Linked DNA regions of Homo sapiens: regions 1, 2 and 3 are each linked to region 4. The links are contacts of gene promoters, found by promoter capture Hi-C in blood cells and fetal thymus (Javierre and others, 2016). All regions are on one chromosome and are shown on one strand. Each heading gives the region's core, a stretch centred on a gene start or on the middle of the fragment in contact. The rest is flanking DNA. Distances are from core to core; before and after follow the strand shown. Region 1 overlaps SLIT3 (slit guidance ligand 3). Region 2 overlaps SLIT3 (slit guidance ligand 3). Region 3 overlaps SLIT3 (slit guidance ligand 3). Region 4 holds the start of SLIT3 (slit guidance ligand 3).

Region 1 (3,464 bases), core at 960-3,459, 320 kb before region 4:
GTTGGGGCAATTGTCCTTCCTTTGGTTTCAGAGCTAGGCCCATAAATGAGGAGACTATCCTTCAACCTCACTCCAGGCTCATCCTGGGAAAACTGGACTCTCCTCTTTCCGCACAGCCCCAAGGGGCCCACATGTCAAAGAATCTCATGCTTCGGGGTTGCTCTCAAACCAGATCAACCTTCAAAGCTTTGATTTTAAACGAATGCTGCTCTGCAGGCTAAATATCACAGGCCTGTGTTGGGGCCCGAAGAGGACAAGATGTGCACTTGGAGGCCAGACAGGCTTGCAACACCATCCAAGCAATGAGAAAACAAGACATAGTGGAAAAGAGGATCTGTTTCTCAGTATCTGTCTTGGCTGGGGTACCACTGTGAACATGGCATGCAACAATCAGAGAGGCAGAGGATACCAAACCCAAAGGAACTCTTCCCCTGTTTACCAGGAGGAACTCCTTTTTTTCTGTACTTCACTATTTTCTCGTCTGTTTAGTCTAAAAGGCTGAACTATTACACAAAGAAAGTTCTCTCCAAGAATGAGTTTTCCAGAGAAAGCTCTTCAGACAAGGGCAGTGTTTGAACCACTCTCCACAGCCTGGAGAATGGGGTGTGTGTTTAACAGAAGGGGGCTGGGGCCAAACAGGACTCCCTGAAGGATTCCCAAGGTGCTCTGTTTGTGTGATTTATCCCTTCTGGAAAATCCAAACATACAAATGTGCCTGCTGCAAAAGTCAGGGCAGTCTCCAGGACTCAGGTTCCCACACAAAGCTAACCACATATAGCTTGCCTGCCCTGAAGGTTTTCTCTATTTTAACCTTCGTAGGTTTTCAACCAAAACAGATGAAAGGGAGGTGCATGTAGTTTTGCTGGGGATCAGCAGACCTCATTTCTCTCTCTCTTCTTAGCTCCTAGGCTCACTTCACAAAAAACCCTCGGAGAACAGGAACTGGGCAAAAAGGGGCTTCCCTCAGCTCCTGGGATTTCAGAACCAGACATTGTCATCCTGTTCACCAAGCAGCAAAAACACACAACTCCGAGGCCCCACACTTTAGAGCAGGGGACACAGCCCTCAAAAGACTCCAATCCCAAACCCTTTTTATCTAGTAACCATTTGTTTGTGGAAATTTTGTTCACATTATAAGAGAGCTAGACCAGTTCTACATGCCTTTGAAATTCCAGCCCCCACGCCCTCTCCTCCCTGGCTAAAATGTTCTATGGAGTGGTGCCCGGGTTCTGAGATGCGTGTAAAAGTTGATGGAGAAGGCAGACTGAATTAAAAATGCATCCTTGCTTGTACACCATTCCAAAATGACCAAGGGGAAGGCTGCTTCCCACAGAAGGCTCAAAATGCATGATTTTATCTGAGTCCCAAAACCGTCCTACGAAGTAAATGCTTTTACTTTCATCCTTTTGCTATACAAGGAAATTGAGGCTCAGAGAATATCAGTTTTTGGCAAAGGTCACCCAGCTTGGTAAGTGGCAGAGCAAAGATTAGGATCAAGGCCTGTCTTTCTCCACACTTCAAGCTCTTTCCACCTCCCACATGATATTTCAACTTGGGCAATATGGCAAGGCTTCAGGAAGGCCCCAGAATATTGCATGCCCTTTGATCCAGGGCTACAAGGCTAAGAACTTAACCCAAGAAATACTTATGAAGGCAGACAAAGATAGATTTACAACGGTATCAGCAGTAACACTATTGATAACAGCAGAAGTTTGGGAGAAAAGTAATTATATGGTACTGATTGAATTTAGCATTATATCCATACAATAGAATACCATGCAAGTATTCAGTCATTAAAGACACTAGGGTAGAAGAATATTTAGTGATGTGGGAAAATGTTTACGATGTAAAGTGAAAAAAATTTGAATATGTAACCAAATGTCCATCAAAAGCAATGGTTACCATCATTTTGGTAAATCTATACAATGAAATACCATGAAGCTATGGAAAAGAATGATTTAGTTCTATACAAGTACTGACTTAGATGAATTTCTTCTTTTTGCTAATTTATATTTTTCCCAAAAAGATATTTTTTTAAATAAGAATAAAAGCATTGAAAATATTCAACATTCACATGCAAGGCGCTATTTAGAAACTATCTCAATGTATGATTTTGTCATTATGTGCGCAATGCTGATATTAGACACAAGCAAAGTTGCTACAATTTGTGTAGCATGTAATTTGGACCACGTGTCAGTTTATTCATTAATATGCATTTGGCTCACTGTGGGGTGCATGCCAATAGGGACTGACTACGCAACAGTTCAGATTTTGGTAAATGGGGGTAGGGGAGAAAGAGGGTGGGGATTGGATCTGAATAGACAGGTGAAGATGACAGATTCCCGGGATTGCAATGAGGCTTGGGGGCCTCAAGGACTGAGGCAGGAGGATCACTCCCTCTTCCTAAGCAGTAGCACCAATGCATGTGGTGGAGGTTCCATGCGCAGAGCCTCCCTTATGCCCATCAAAATAAAACAAATCCTCACCAGAGGAGCCAAGAGTAGACCTAATCAGCAGACACTGATCCTGCCAACACTCCCTGACTTCCATTATTGTAGATAGAGCTGAATGGGTTATCCAGGACTCCAAGCACTGCTGCCCCCATCCCTCCTGCCCTTTACTATAATAACCATAAGTCTTAATTTCTTCTTTGATCAATAACTCCATGTCTGAATTCTAAAATACAGCATCTGCTCTCATATTCCTCTGATAAATGGTTTGAATTAATGTAAAGCACATTATTCTTAGAGTCTTGGCTTATTGTATCAAAGACATCTGGTTTCCCAAGAAACTTCTAGGAGCCTGGATGTTTAAGGGCACTGAAGGCTAAGAATGGAGTCCCATTAACTCTTAGGTGATCATTGCCAGTCCATGAACTGTTGATTACAGGTCCCTGAAGACATAAACACTGAAGTTGAGAGTATCTAAAAATGATGATAGCAATGTGACGTTGCTGCATTTGTGTACATGATATTAACCACCTATATATGATATTAACCACCACACTTTCCATGACCCACATGCACAGATTTGTAATTCTTTCCTTTCTTCTAATTATGTGCATTCTGATATTTTTTGAAATGTAATTTTATGCCTGTGTAATCTAATAATTAAATATTTGTGCTTCTATTCTGTATATCTGCTATGGTTTTTGTCCTGTCCACAACTCATGTTGAAATTCCCAGTGTGGCAGTATGGAGAGATGGGGCCTTTGAGAGATGATTCATGGATTAATACATTAACAGGTTATCATAGGAGTGGGACTGGTGGCTTTATAAGAAGAGGAAGAGAGACTTGAGCTAGCACACTCAGCTCTCTCTCCATGTGATACCCTGTGCCACCTAAGGACCCTTCAGAGAGTCTTGAACAACAAGAAGGTTCTCACCAGATGCACCCCCTTGACCTTGGACTTCCCAGCCTCCAGAACTGAAGGAAATACATTTAATGTCTTACAAATTAACCAA
Region 2 (3,692 bases), core at 788-3,287, 350 kb before region 4:
CTTACTCTGAGGTAAGAACAGTGGCTCCATTCAATAAACCCATGCCAACCTCGTGAAGGGTCTGTACCTCCAGTTGTCCACAGGTTGCTGATGAAATAGAGATGAGTATCAGGACCCCAACTGGGACTGACCTGTGACACCCGAGGAAAGGAAGAGGAAGGAGGGAAGGAGAGGCCCCAGGGTGGTACCTGTTCAGCTCAGAAGATTGGCAACACTGACACTCAACTTCTGGAAAGGGAATGGGACCCTGCTAGCTCATGCCCCACAAAGTCACATCACACTGATAACATATCAGGGAGTTGCTTTAATGACTGACCATGCAAAACTGCATTCCAGAAAAGAAAACCAAAGGAAGATCAAAAGCTTCGTGATTGGTATCCACATTTTTTTTTTTTTGAGACAAAGTCTCACTCTGTTACCCAAGCTGATGTGCAGTGGCGCAATGCTCACTGCAACCTCCACCTCCCAGGTTCAAGTGATTCTCCTGCCTCAGCTTCCCAAGTAGCTGGGACTACAGGCATGTGCCACCATGCCTGGCTAATTTTTGTATTTTTAGTAGAGACAGGGTTTCACCATGTTGGCCAGGCTTGTCTTGAACTCCTGACCTTATGATCTGCCTACCTCAGCCTCCCAAAGTGCCGGGATTACAGGCATGAGCCACCACGCCCGGCCCAGTATCCGGTCTTAGGCAAGAGAGATGATCACACATTCTGGCCTGGCCTCTCCACAGAGGTTCTGTGTCTCCGCCTGGAACCCTCTCCACATGCTATACTTTTAATATGTTCTAGGTCTGCTTTCAGTTATTCCAAATATATCAACACTGAGAGAGAGAAAACAATCCCGACTGCTTTAGGGCTAAACTCGGGTGTTTCCTCCTCCCAACACGTGCAACAAAACGCATGCATATGTGGCTCTGTGAAGAGGCAGCCAGCGTCTTAGGGAAACCCAAAACCATGTACAAAGAAAGAGGGCAGTGGTTCCACTAGGCCTGGGCCAAATATCTCTTGATTTGTTCTAATCTTTGGGCTTGTGCTTAATGTCATGATTGGATTAGAAACAAGATTTTCCTCCCAGGCTATGAACTTGGAAAGTTTCTCGCGTACTGTTTCTAAATTCCTTGTTACAATAATAGCCGCACTCTATGTACTAAGTTTTATGTGCTGTATTCTTATTTAATTCTTACGACAATGCTAGGGGGGAGTCACATCAAATGTAGGTGGTAGCAGTGAGGCTCTGAGATGAAACAATTTCCCTGAGTTTACCTGGCTGGTTTTCAATGAGGCTGGGATTGGGACTTGTGTCTGTGCTTGCAATCACTATACACGTTGACCCTTTAGCTCTTTCTTATGGCTGCTGATTTGAGAACCTATCCAAGGGCCTGAGAGACCAAGGGAGGGGACTCAGTTGACCCCAGTCCTCTCAGCCTCCCCAGCCTCTTTGTAATAGAGAATCAGTCCTGCTGCAGGACCTACAGGACCAGAGAGCCTTAGTATCACCCACAGATGCTACCATGGGGCAGCAGCATTGGGCTGGAGACATTGGGCCCCAACCTCCCAAATGCCTGCAGATAGCCTGGGCCCTGCCTTTTCCTACTGTGCCTCCCCAAGCCCCAAGGGGCAGCGGCTGTTAGGGAGGGATTCTCATGGTCCCATAGTGTTCCCCAGCCTTGTTCACGCAGCACAACAGTGACATCCAGGGGAGAGGCTTGGTGATGGCAGGGACCACCTGGCTCCAGCATCTTCTGCAGGTTTCTGGGCTGATTTGCAAGCACAGGCCCTGAATCATCAGAGGACAGGCATCTGGGGGCTTGTGGGTCCACAATCCCCTCTGCGGCCTGCCTGGGGTCTTTCGACACCGGACACACGCTCACCCCCTAGCCCAGCCTTCATCCCTCATTCTCACCCCTTCCCTACTCTTTGCTCAGTTACTCCAGGGTTTAGAAAGGGTGTCTTCAACTTGACCTACTGGAACACACAGCTGCTCCCCTCCCCTTCGAACACCTCTCCATTTGCAAAGCCTTTTATCAGCTCCATCTGATGATAGAGAACAGGTTTCTGGAACTAAAAATTAGCTCAGTCTTTTTTTCAAAGAGAAAAGATTTCACAATTAAATGGTGAATGTATGGGGGTGTATTGTTATTATTACTATTATGTCTCACACTAGCATTTTCTAGTTTCTATATATTGTGGTGTCCCCTTTGTTTTGATCTGCATGAGAAAGTCAGTATTGTCTATGGAAGTAAGAAACATACACTGCACAAAAGGAATTAGATCCTACACACACACACATAAATATGCAAGTATTTAAACATTTAAACAGAAACCAAGGGCAATATAAACTAAAAGGCTGAAAGAGAAATGCAACGAGAGAAAAAACAGATGCTTGCCTCTGCTGGGGACTTTTCTGGGGGAACATTTGGGCTGATGCTGCCCATCACCTTTCCCTGGCCTGTGGGTGTCATCTCTGCAGACTGCACTCTGGGATGTTCCCTGGGTCCCTCGGGAGCTGCAGGGAGAGCCACCGTCTGCCGCCCTGGTGCCTGGACTCCACTCCCCCAGGCCCCTGCTCACTGCTCTCTTTGGCCAGGAGGTGGCAGTGCAGAGATGTTGCATGGGACTGTGGCCCAAAAAGGAGGCATAGGAAGAAAAAAAACAGGCTGGGGTGGTGGGCCTTGAGGATTTCTGCCCCACAGCTGTGCCCAGGTCAGGGGCAGGGCCACCTGGGTCCTGGCTGACAGAGGCACCAGGGCTGCCAGTGTGAAAAGTGGGGGCCTGGTTCTTCATACACTGAGCTGGCTTGGTGGAATCCTCCTGGAAGAATGTGCCCCACATGCAGGGCCTGAGGCTGGATGCAGACCCAAGGGCTGGGGCTGGGCAATAATGGGGAAGGAGAGCCTGAAAGGTAGTTTTTTTGTTGTTGTTGTTTTGTTTTTTTCTTTTTTGAGATGGAGTCTTGCTATGTCACTCAGGCTGGAGTGCAGTGGTACAATCTCGATCTTGGCTCACTGCAACCTCTGTCTCCTGGGTTCAAAACTCTCCTGCCTCAGCCTCCTGAGAAGCTGGGATGACAGGCATGCACCACCACACCCGGCTAATTTTTGTATTTTTAGTAGAGATGGGGGTCTCGCCATGTTGGCCAGGCTGGTCTCAAACTCCTGACCTCAAGTGATCCGCCCACCTCAGCCTCCCAAAGTGCTGGGATTACAGGCCTGAGCCACCATGCCTGGCCAAGTTGTTTTTATTATTATCCTGAAAACTGCCACCCACAGGAAGGGCAGTGAATGACTGTGTGCCACACTTTCCCTTCTCTGCCGGACCTGACGCGCCACCCCAGCAACACCCCTGCCTTGTCCGGGGCCTGATGCACTGCCTGGCACACAGTGGGTGCTTGCCCACTATTAATAGTCATGGCAACAGAAGGGCAACAGAAGCCCCCACAGCAAACGGGGGCTGTGGATTTTTGGGTTCAGAGGAGACTCAGCGAAGGAAGAGGCTCCGTTGGAACAGGCAGGGTTTAGGTGTCATGTGATTTAGGTGCATACAGAGAACAGAGCCGGAGCCTGAGGGGGCTGCAGATGGATGTGAGGCTGCAGGTAGAAACTCCCTCTCAGCACCTGAGAGAAATGATTGTGAGGTCGGGAGACACTTTGCAAGTCCTTCTGAGGCAGGTGTAAGTTGTGGAATTTTCCCTTT
Region 3 (3,648 bases), core at 306-2,805, 300 kb before region 4:
GTCTCAGGAGGTGGGTGGCCTGAGCCGGGTGGAGTGGAGGAGTGATGTGTGGGAGAATGTGGCTCATGGTCTATTTACATTCAGGATCCTTTCAGCTTCTGCAGGACCATCTTGACTGCTGCAGGTCTCTGTGAGTGGGTCATCCTCACAGCTGTCAGGCCGGGTTAGTGCACTCTCAAGAAATCATGATGAAAGGGAGGGATCAACCGCCTCATTGATCAATAATCCTGTCTCCTGTGGCCCTCAGTTTTATGCCTGGTGCACTAGGGGACTGTGACGCATCGCGTGCCCCTTCTCTAAGAGCGACACCTGTACCTTCCCAGACACAGGGTCTGGAAGCTGGTCTCCTGAGAGGTCACACTGGGACCTGGGAAAAGCTGGGCTCAGAGGCTCCCTGGGGATTTGGAGGGTTGGGAAGGGGCAAACACTTCGACTGAGAATTTGTGTCAAATTTGAGCTCTGTTGTTTTTCCTACCCCATCCCCCCACTTTAGAGGGAGAGACTGCAATTACTTTTCTGTACCCCCTGGAAAGAGGATTTGGGGTTCTGGGTTTGTGGAATCAAGTCCTATTGTGAAAGAATAGAATTAACTGAAAGAGGGAGGGTCTTCTCCAAAACTAGAAAGGGATGGGGGTAGAGGGAGGTATGCGTGGGGCCCAAGGATTTGGGAGAGGCAAAAGACCCCACAGAGTCATGGCCGCGTGGCTTTCTAGAAGCCTTGCCCCAAATTCCCTTTCTCATCCAAGCCCAGAAATGCAGAGCTGCTGCATGCAGGAGACCTCAGTGGGCCTGGGTGATCTGGGACTGCTGATGACCATCCTTTGTTTCCGGTCACCATGCAAACTCCTAACTCTGCTGGGAGGGGTCCTGGAAGGGAAACAGGAGAGAAGACCTAGGTAGCAACTGGCACGGCATTTCCAACCAGCCTATGACATGGGGATTCAAGTGTCAACATCAGGTTCAAAGGAGTGGTATTTCTGGCACACCTGAGTTTGTCCTTGGCACTTCACATCCACCGCAACCCTTGCATGGCTTTATCTGTAGTGTCTATAAAGAGATCAGGGCTCCATTCTTCATGTGATAACCTTTCCCAGAATTTGAGGCCAAGCTCTCTCTCTCTACCCGCCCCATGCCCTCTCTCTCCCTCCATCTCTCCCCTTCCCTCCCTCTCTCTCCTCTGTTCATATTCAAAGCCAGGTGGAAGCTCTCAATAATAAACTGTGGGAGTCACTTGGGACACAGGGATGGCTGCTGATCTCACAGAGTTACAAGAAAGAAAGTCATCCAGATTGGCTCTAGAATAAAATGCCACCAGAAAATGTATTTGAAGAATGAAATACTTTGTCATGGCTTAAAACACATGAAACACATCCGTTTCATCCCTTCCTTGTTTCTTTTCAGCTATAGAAAGGACAACCAGCACCACCTCCAAAATGCCTCCAAAGGGTCTGCCTTGTATGCAAGGTTGTAGGTATTTTAGTTAAACATCCAATTAAGGTTACTCTTCTAGTTATAATGTTTTGATGCCACCCCATGTACTAGTAAACTTTGAAGGTTAGAACTAAGAAATGGGCCAGGCGCGGTGGCTCAGGCCTATAATCCCAGCATTTTGGGAGGCTGAGGCGGGCAGATCAGAAGGTCAGGAGTTCGAGACCAGCCTGGCCAATATGGTGAAACCCCGTCTCTACTAAAAATACAAAAATTAGCTGGGAGTGGTGGCGCATACCTGTAATCCCAGCTACTCAGGAGGCCGAGGCAGGAGAATCGCTTGAACCCGAGAGGCAGAGGTTGCAGTGAGCCGAGATCGCACCATTGCACTCCAGCCTGGGCGACAGAGCAAGACTCCATTTCAAAACAAAACAAAACAAAACAAAACAAAACAAAACAAAAGGCCATTGAACAGGGTGAAAAGATGTGTCCTCAAAGTGTGGTCCCCAGACCAGCAGCATCACTGTCACCTAGGAATGTGTTAGAAATATGAATTCTTGGGCCCTACCCCAGTCCCACTGAATCAGAAATTCTGGGAGGGGACCCAGAAATCTGTGTGTGTGTGTGTGTGTGTGTGTGTGTGTGTGTTTTGAGACAGGATCTCGCTCTTTTGCCCAGGCTGGAGTGCAGTGGAGTGATCATGGTTCACTGCAGCCTCAACCTCCCAGACTCAAGTGATTATCCCACCTCAGCCTCCCAAGTAGCTGGGATTACAGGTGTGCACCAGCATGCCCAGCTATTTTTAAATTTGTTTTTTTAGAGACAGAGTCTCACTACATTGCCCAGGCTGGTGTCGAATTCCTGGGCTCAAGGTATCTTCCTGCCTCTACCACCCAAAGCGCTGGGATTACAGGTGAGTCACCCTTTAGGAGGTAATGAATGAACTTCCAAGTATGAGAGCCTCTGGTAATGGGTTCAAGACCTCTGGCTCTGGAGTGGGATACAGTCAGGTTTCAATCCCAGATCTGCAGGCATGGATCTGCAGCAGTTCATCTTGTGCTGCTGGCTTTACCTCTCTTAATTTGGTTTTCTGATTGGATAAACAGTAATAATTACCCCCATCCCATAAGGTTGTTGGATCAAATAAAACAGCACAGCTACATAGAGCCTTGTGTGGGTATTTTGGGGTGCTGAGTGATAACTAATCATATCCCCATCCCCTTCCAATTCCAGACCCATGTGAAGCAGGCAGATGGAGACCAGAACATGGGCTCCATTGCTGATGAACTCCTCTGAAGGACTCAGGGATCTGGTCCCCACTCACATTGGCTTCCTAGTGCTGCCTCCCACAAACTTTGGACAGTGTCCCTATAGGGTGAGAGGGTGAAGGTCTGCAGAGGAGGCACACAGCCCAAGTCCCTGCCTCACACTGTCAAAGCCGAGGAATGTGGACAGAGGATATGCAGCCACGGGACTCACAAAGGCAGCCCTGGCTTCACCATGGAGGGCCGGCCCTGGGGCTGCAGGTACAGAGTGGACGCCCACCTGGGAGCTTTTGCACGGGAAGACCCATGCAAAAGTGGACCTGCTGGACTGCTCAGTCATTCCTCTTGAGCTCGATGGCCTTGTGGCTCATGGCTTGGAGTAGGGAGATGACCCAAAGACCCTTCATGATTTTTTCCACTTGGGGTCTGGGTATCCCCATCCTTCTTAGGAAATAGCAGAAGTAAAGTAATGCCTATCACTTGCTAAAATCAGTGCTCAACAAATACTGCGATCATTATTGACGACAAAAAATCAGTGCTCAACAAATGCTGCGATCATTATTAAGAAGTTATGGCCGGGTGCGGTGGCTGTAATCCCAGCACTTTGGGAGGCTGAGGCAGGCGCATCATGAGATCAAGAGATCTAAACCATTCTGGCCAACATGGTGAAACCTCGTTTCTACTAAAAATACAAAAATTAGCTGGGCATGGTGGTGTGTGCCTGCAGTCCCAGCTACTCGAAAGGCTGAGGCAGGAGAATCGCTTGAACCTGGGAGGCAGAGGTTGCAGTGAGCTGAGATCACACCACTGCACTCCAGCCTGGGTGACAAAAGCAAAACTCCATCTCAAAAAAAAAAAAAAAAAAAAAAAAAGATTTGTAAAGGATATTAACGTAATCTTTTCTGAAATGGAAAGTTCAGTTGCATCAACGCTTAAGCCTACAATGAAGAATTAC
Region 4 (3,261 bases), core at 528-3,027:
CACTCTAGGACAATGCTTGTCATCACTACTCTCTTCCAGCCTGAAGTCAAGAAAGCAGAGTGGAAGATCCAGGCGCCTACCCCTAAGGCACATGAGGAAGGGGAGAAGAGGGAGAGCAAGACACGGAGGGAATCTACCACACTAGAGCAAACCCTCACCCACTTCTCGGCTGGGTTCCCAGTAAGGCTTCCCACCCACTCCAGCGTTTCTCCCCCACTCCCTTACCCCACCCCAACTGCGGACTAAGAGGAGCCCACCCCGGAGTCCAAGTTTTGAATCTGGTCCGAGGATCAAAATGATAAATGTTTCCAAAACGTTGACATATGAAAAGTAAATATTTGGTTGCACAATTGGGGCTAAAACTAGGGTCAATCCACCCCATTCTCCAAGCGCCTCTCCATTCGCTGCCAAGCCCAGGATCTGAGGCTGAGTGCGGTTTGTAAGATTATAACGCTCGGTCTCATTTGAAGGGCTGTCAGCATTTCCATTCTCCGGCCCCTTCGTTCGGGGAGGCATTTATAACCGAGCCATAAAAAATTCACCCGGGGCTGCAACTTGGCATCTCCCAGACTGCGCTCCAGGCAGAGCGGGTTTTGCGAGCACCCACTCTGAATCTGTCCAGTTCCTCAGAAGTTAAACCTTCACCCACACTCTCAACTTTCCTTGCAAGGGCAGCCAGAGAGCGGCTGGCCCATTCTGATCTCCAAGCAGGTCAACAGTCTCGGGCCCTCTCTCCCGCCTCCGCGCCTTGACGGCCCATCATCCTATAGCTTTCTCCTTCGCCCGCCCCCCTTTTTAACGAGCGCAGACCCCTGACCCTCACCCTAAGACCTTGAGGCTGCAGTGCTCTTGCCTCCCCTCGCCTCTCCTCAGCTACTCCTTGGAAGCTGTCAGCGGGCCCTGCGTCTGGAACCCTCACCCCTGGAGAGGCACTGCTCTTTGCCCATCGCTGGGGGTTTCGAGACCTCTCTTTCCAGATCTGACCAAGCCTACAGACCCCCAGCTCGGAGAGTGAGGGATCGTATCCAGGAAGGGATGAGAATAGAGACTGCATCCAGGGAGGCCGAGGGGAAAGGACGGATCTGGCGCCTGGGGCCCCCTCGGTGGGACCCAGGTGGGTGGCCCGCGTGGGGTGGGGCAGGGGTACTCACAGGCGCTCAGCGTTGCGGGGGATGCCCCGAGGAACCGCGCGGAGGCCCAGCCCGTGGCAGTCCACGCTGGCAGCGGAGCAGGTACACTTGGTGGGGCAGGCGACGGCTGGAGGCCCACTCAGGACGCTCGCCAGCGCCAAGGCCAGCGCCAGGCGGGCGCGCACGGCGGCGCCGACCCCTGCCCACCCGGGGGCCATGGTGTGCAGGGCCCCGCTCCTGGAGGAGGCTGCCTCTGCGGGGCAAGACGCGTGGAGCCCGAGGAGGCGCGCGGGGAGCGCGGGCGGCCTGGGGAGCGGGCGGCGGAGTTAGCGCGGAGGAGGGGCGAGCTCGGTGCTCAGGCGCACGGGGCGCGGGCGGAGCGGGGCGCTCCGGGCGGCGGCGGCGGCAGCAACAGCAGCTCCATCGGCGGGGCCGGCGCTGCCCCGCTGCGCATCGCTGGGAGTGCCCAGGTGCGGAGCGCCCCCTGGCCCCGCTGGCCCGCGGGCCGGGTTGGGGACCTGGGGCGAGCGCAATGGGGCGTGGCGCCCGGGGAGGTCCGGCTTGGGGCTGGGCTGGGGAGCGCGGCGGCTGCGGCTGGGGCACGGGGCGGCCGGGTGAGCTGGCCGGCGCTCGCTCTCTCCATTCAGTGAGCACGGCAGACACCGGAGACGCGGGGCCCACCCCTCCGGCCCCCCCCCGACCAAGAAACGCCAACTCCGCCTCCCATTGGCTGCGCCGCGCGTCATGTCGACTAAGTTGGGAACTTTGCTGGAGCGACCGAGAGCCTGGAGGGAGGAGGCAGTAGAGGAGGGAGAGAGAAGGAACCAGGGAAGGAAAGGGGCTCGGCCAGCAGGGCCCCTGGAAAGAAACACTGAAACTCATTCACTGTTAAGATCCAAGGACGGATAAGGCTCCTGACACTTTTTTTTTTTTAATTTTTGCACTGAGCTGAGCACTCTACTCATATTCTTTACTTAAGTCCACGATCTTCCAAGGGGTCGTCTGAAAACAGCTCAGAGAAGTGAAGCGACTTGCTGGAGGTCGCACAGCTGCTAGGGACGCCAAACCATGGCAGTGTCGCCCACGAAGCCGCTTCCCTACCGCACCTAGTACTCATGGCAGAGATCCACAATTTTGCCTGAAGAGCCTTGGTTGACACCAATGTACTCCACAGCTACACACACACACACACCGTGGTCCATGTTGTTGAGGTCACTGCTGGCAAACCTTACCCGGAAACTTGCCCTGCTTTGCCCAGACCCAGCGCTTGGTGGACTGGTAAAAGTAGTGATGGCAGCGACTTGGACCCCTGGATTGACAATGCCTTGTTCCATCCTCGGGTTTCTGCTTCCTGACTGGGTGACTCTGGGCCAATCGTGTCATCTCTGAGCCTTCGTTTTCTCAAATCCGGGGCCACAGTCCTACCTGGCCTCACCTCCCTGGGTTGTTTGGAGCATCACAGAAGAGAACGTGTTTTTGCAAAAGTCATTCGCAGACGAGGCATCCCTTCTGTCCCCAGCGCCTTCTTTCTTCCAGCGCCCGCTTTAAATTGGCTAGGTCTGAGCTTTTCCAGATGCCAGTGGGGAGGGGCGTGTGCGTTAGAGGCTCCATAAATACTTGTAGGAATGATTTTGTTTGTTTGTTTGAAAGGAAAGGGCAGGAACTGGAGGAAGTATTGCCCAGATTTCCTTGAGGTCCCCTCACACTGAGAAGGCCTGAATGAGCCCTGCATATATATACACACACACTGGTGCCTACGTATTCACAGCCACGCACACACTCTCACATACTCAGGCTCACACACACCCATTTATACACCGGCAATCACACACACGTGTACATGCATGCTCGCACACACACTCACATAGTGACAACTATACTCCTGAGAGCGCTTCTCTTTTCTTTCATAAGAATACTATTCTGATTTCTTCTACCTCATTTTCCTTCAAGGAAACTTTCAACTACTTGACCACATCCTGTGAATATATAGTAGAGTTGTAGATTTTATTGTATTATACTTAGCAGATTTTCAAAGTCTTAGCTTTGGGCACCCACTTGCGCGCGCGTACACACAAACACACACATACGCACACTCACTCAAACACACACACTCGAGTCCCTTCATCATTCA

The links. Contacts are between HindIII fragments. The CHiCAGO score rates a contact against its expected background, and 5 or more counts as called.
Region 1: a fragment that was not itself captured here is called in contact with the fragment with the promoter of SLIT3 in region 4 in 1 of 17 cell types (megakaryocytes); the score reaches 10.5 in megakaryocytes.
Region 2: a fragment that was not itself captured here is called in contact with the fragment with the promoter of SLIT3 in region 4 in 1 of 17 cell types (megakaryocytes); the score reaches 6.8 in megakaryocytes.
Region 3: a contact is called between a fragment that was not itself captured here and the fragment with the promoter of SLIT3 in region 4, in 1 of 17 cell types (megakaryocytes). The highest score is 6.7, in megakaryocytes.

What each region holds. Positions count from the first base shown.
Region 1 is chr5:168,979,038-168,982,501 of GRCh38, forward strand. The region is part of intron 4 of SLIT3 (slit guidance ligand 3); the gene reads right to left. Among named protein-coding and RNA genes, the nearest start is that of SLIT3-AS1, 32 kb to the right of the region's middle. The HindIII fragment of the contact is 4,051 bases long and covers 185-3,464 here.
Region 2 is chr5:168,944,864-168,948,555 of GRCh38, forward strand. All of the region lies in intron 4 of SLIT3 (slit guidance ligand 3), which reads right to left. Among named protein-coding and RNA genes, the nearest start is that of SLIT3-AS1, 67 kb to the right of the region's middle. The HindIII fragment of the contact is 3,353 bases long and covers 362-3,692 here.
Region 3 is chr5:168,996,853-169,000,500 of GRCh38, forward strand. The region is part of intron 4 of SLIT3 (slit guidance ligand 3); the gene reads right to left. Among named protein-coding and RNA genes, the nearest start is that of SLIT3-AS1, 15 kb to the right of the region's middle. The HindIII fragment of the contact is 5,072 bases long and covers 1-3,648 here.
Region 4 is chr5:169,299,362-169,302,622 of GRCh38, forward strand. SLIT3 (slit guidance ligand 3) reads right to left here and starts at 1,778. Exons shown (of 36, transcript NM_003062.4): 1 at 1,152-1,778. The coding sequence starts at 1,348. The HindIII fragment of the contact is 7,800 bases long and covers 1-3,261 here.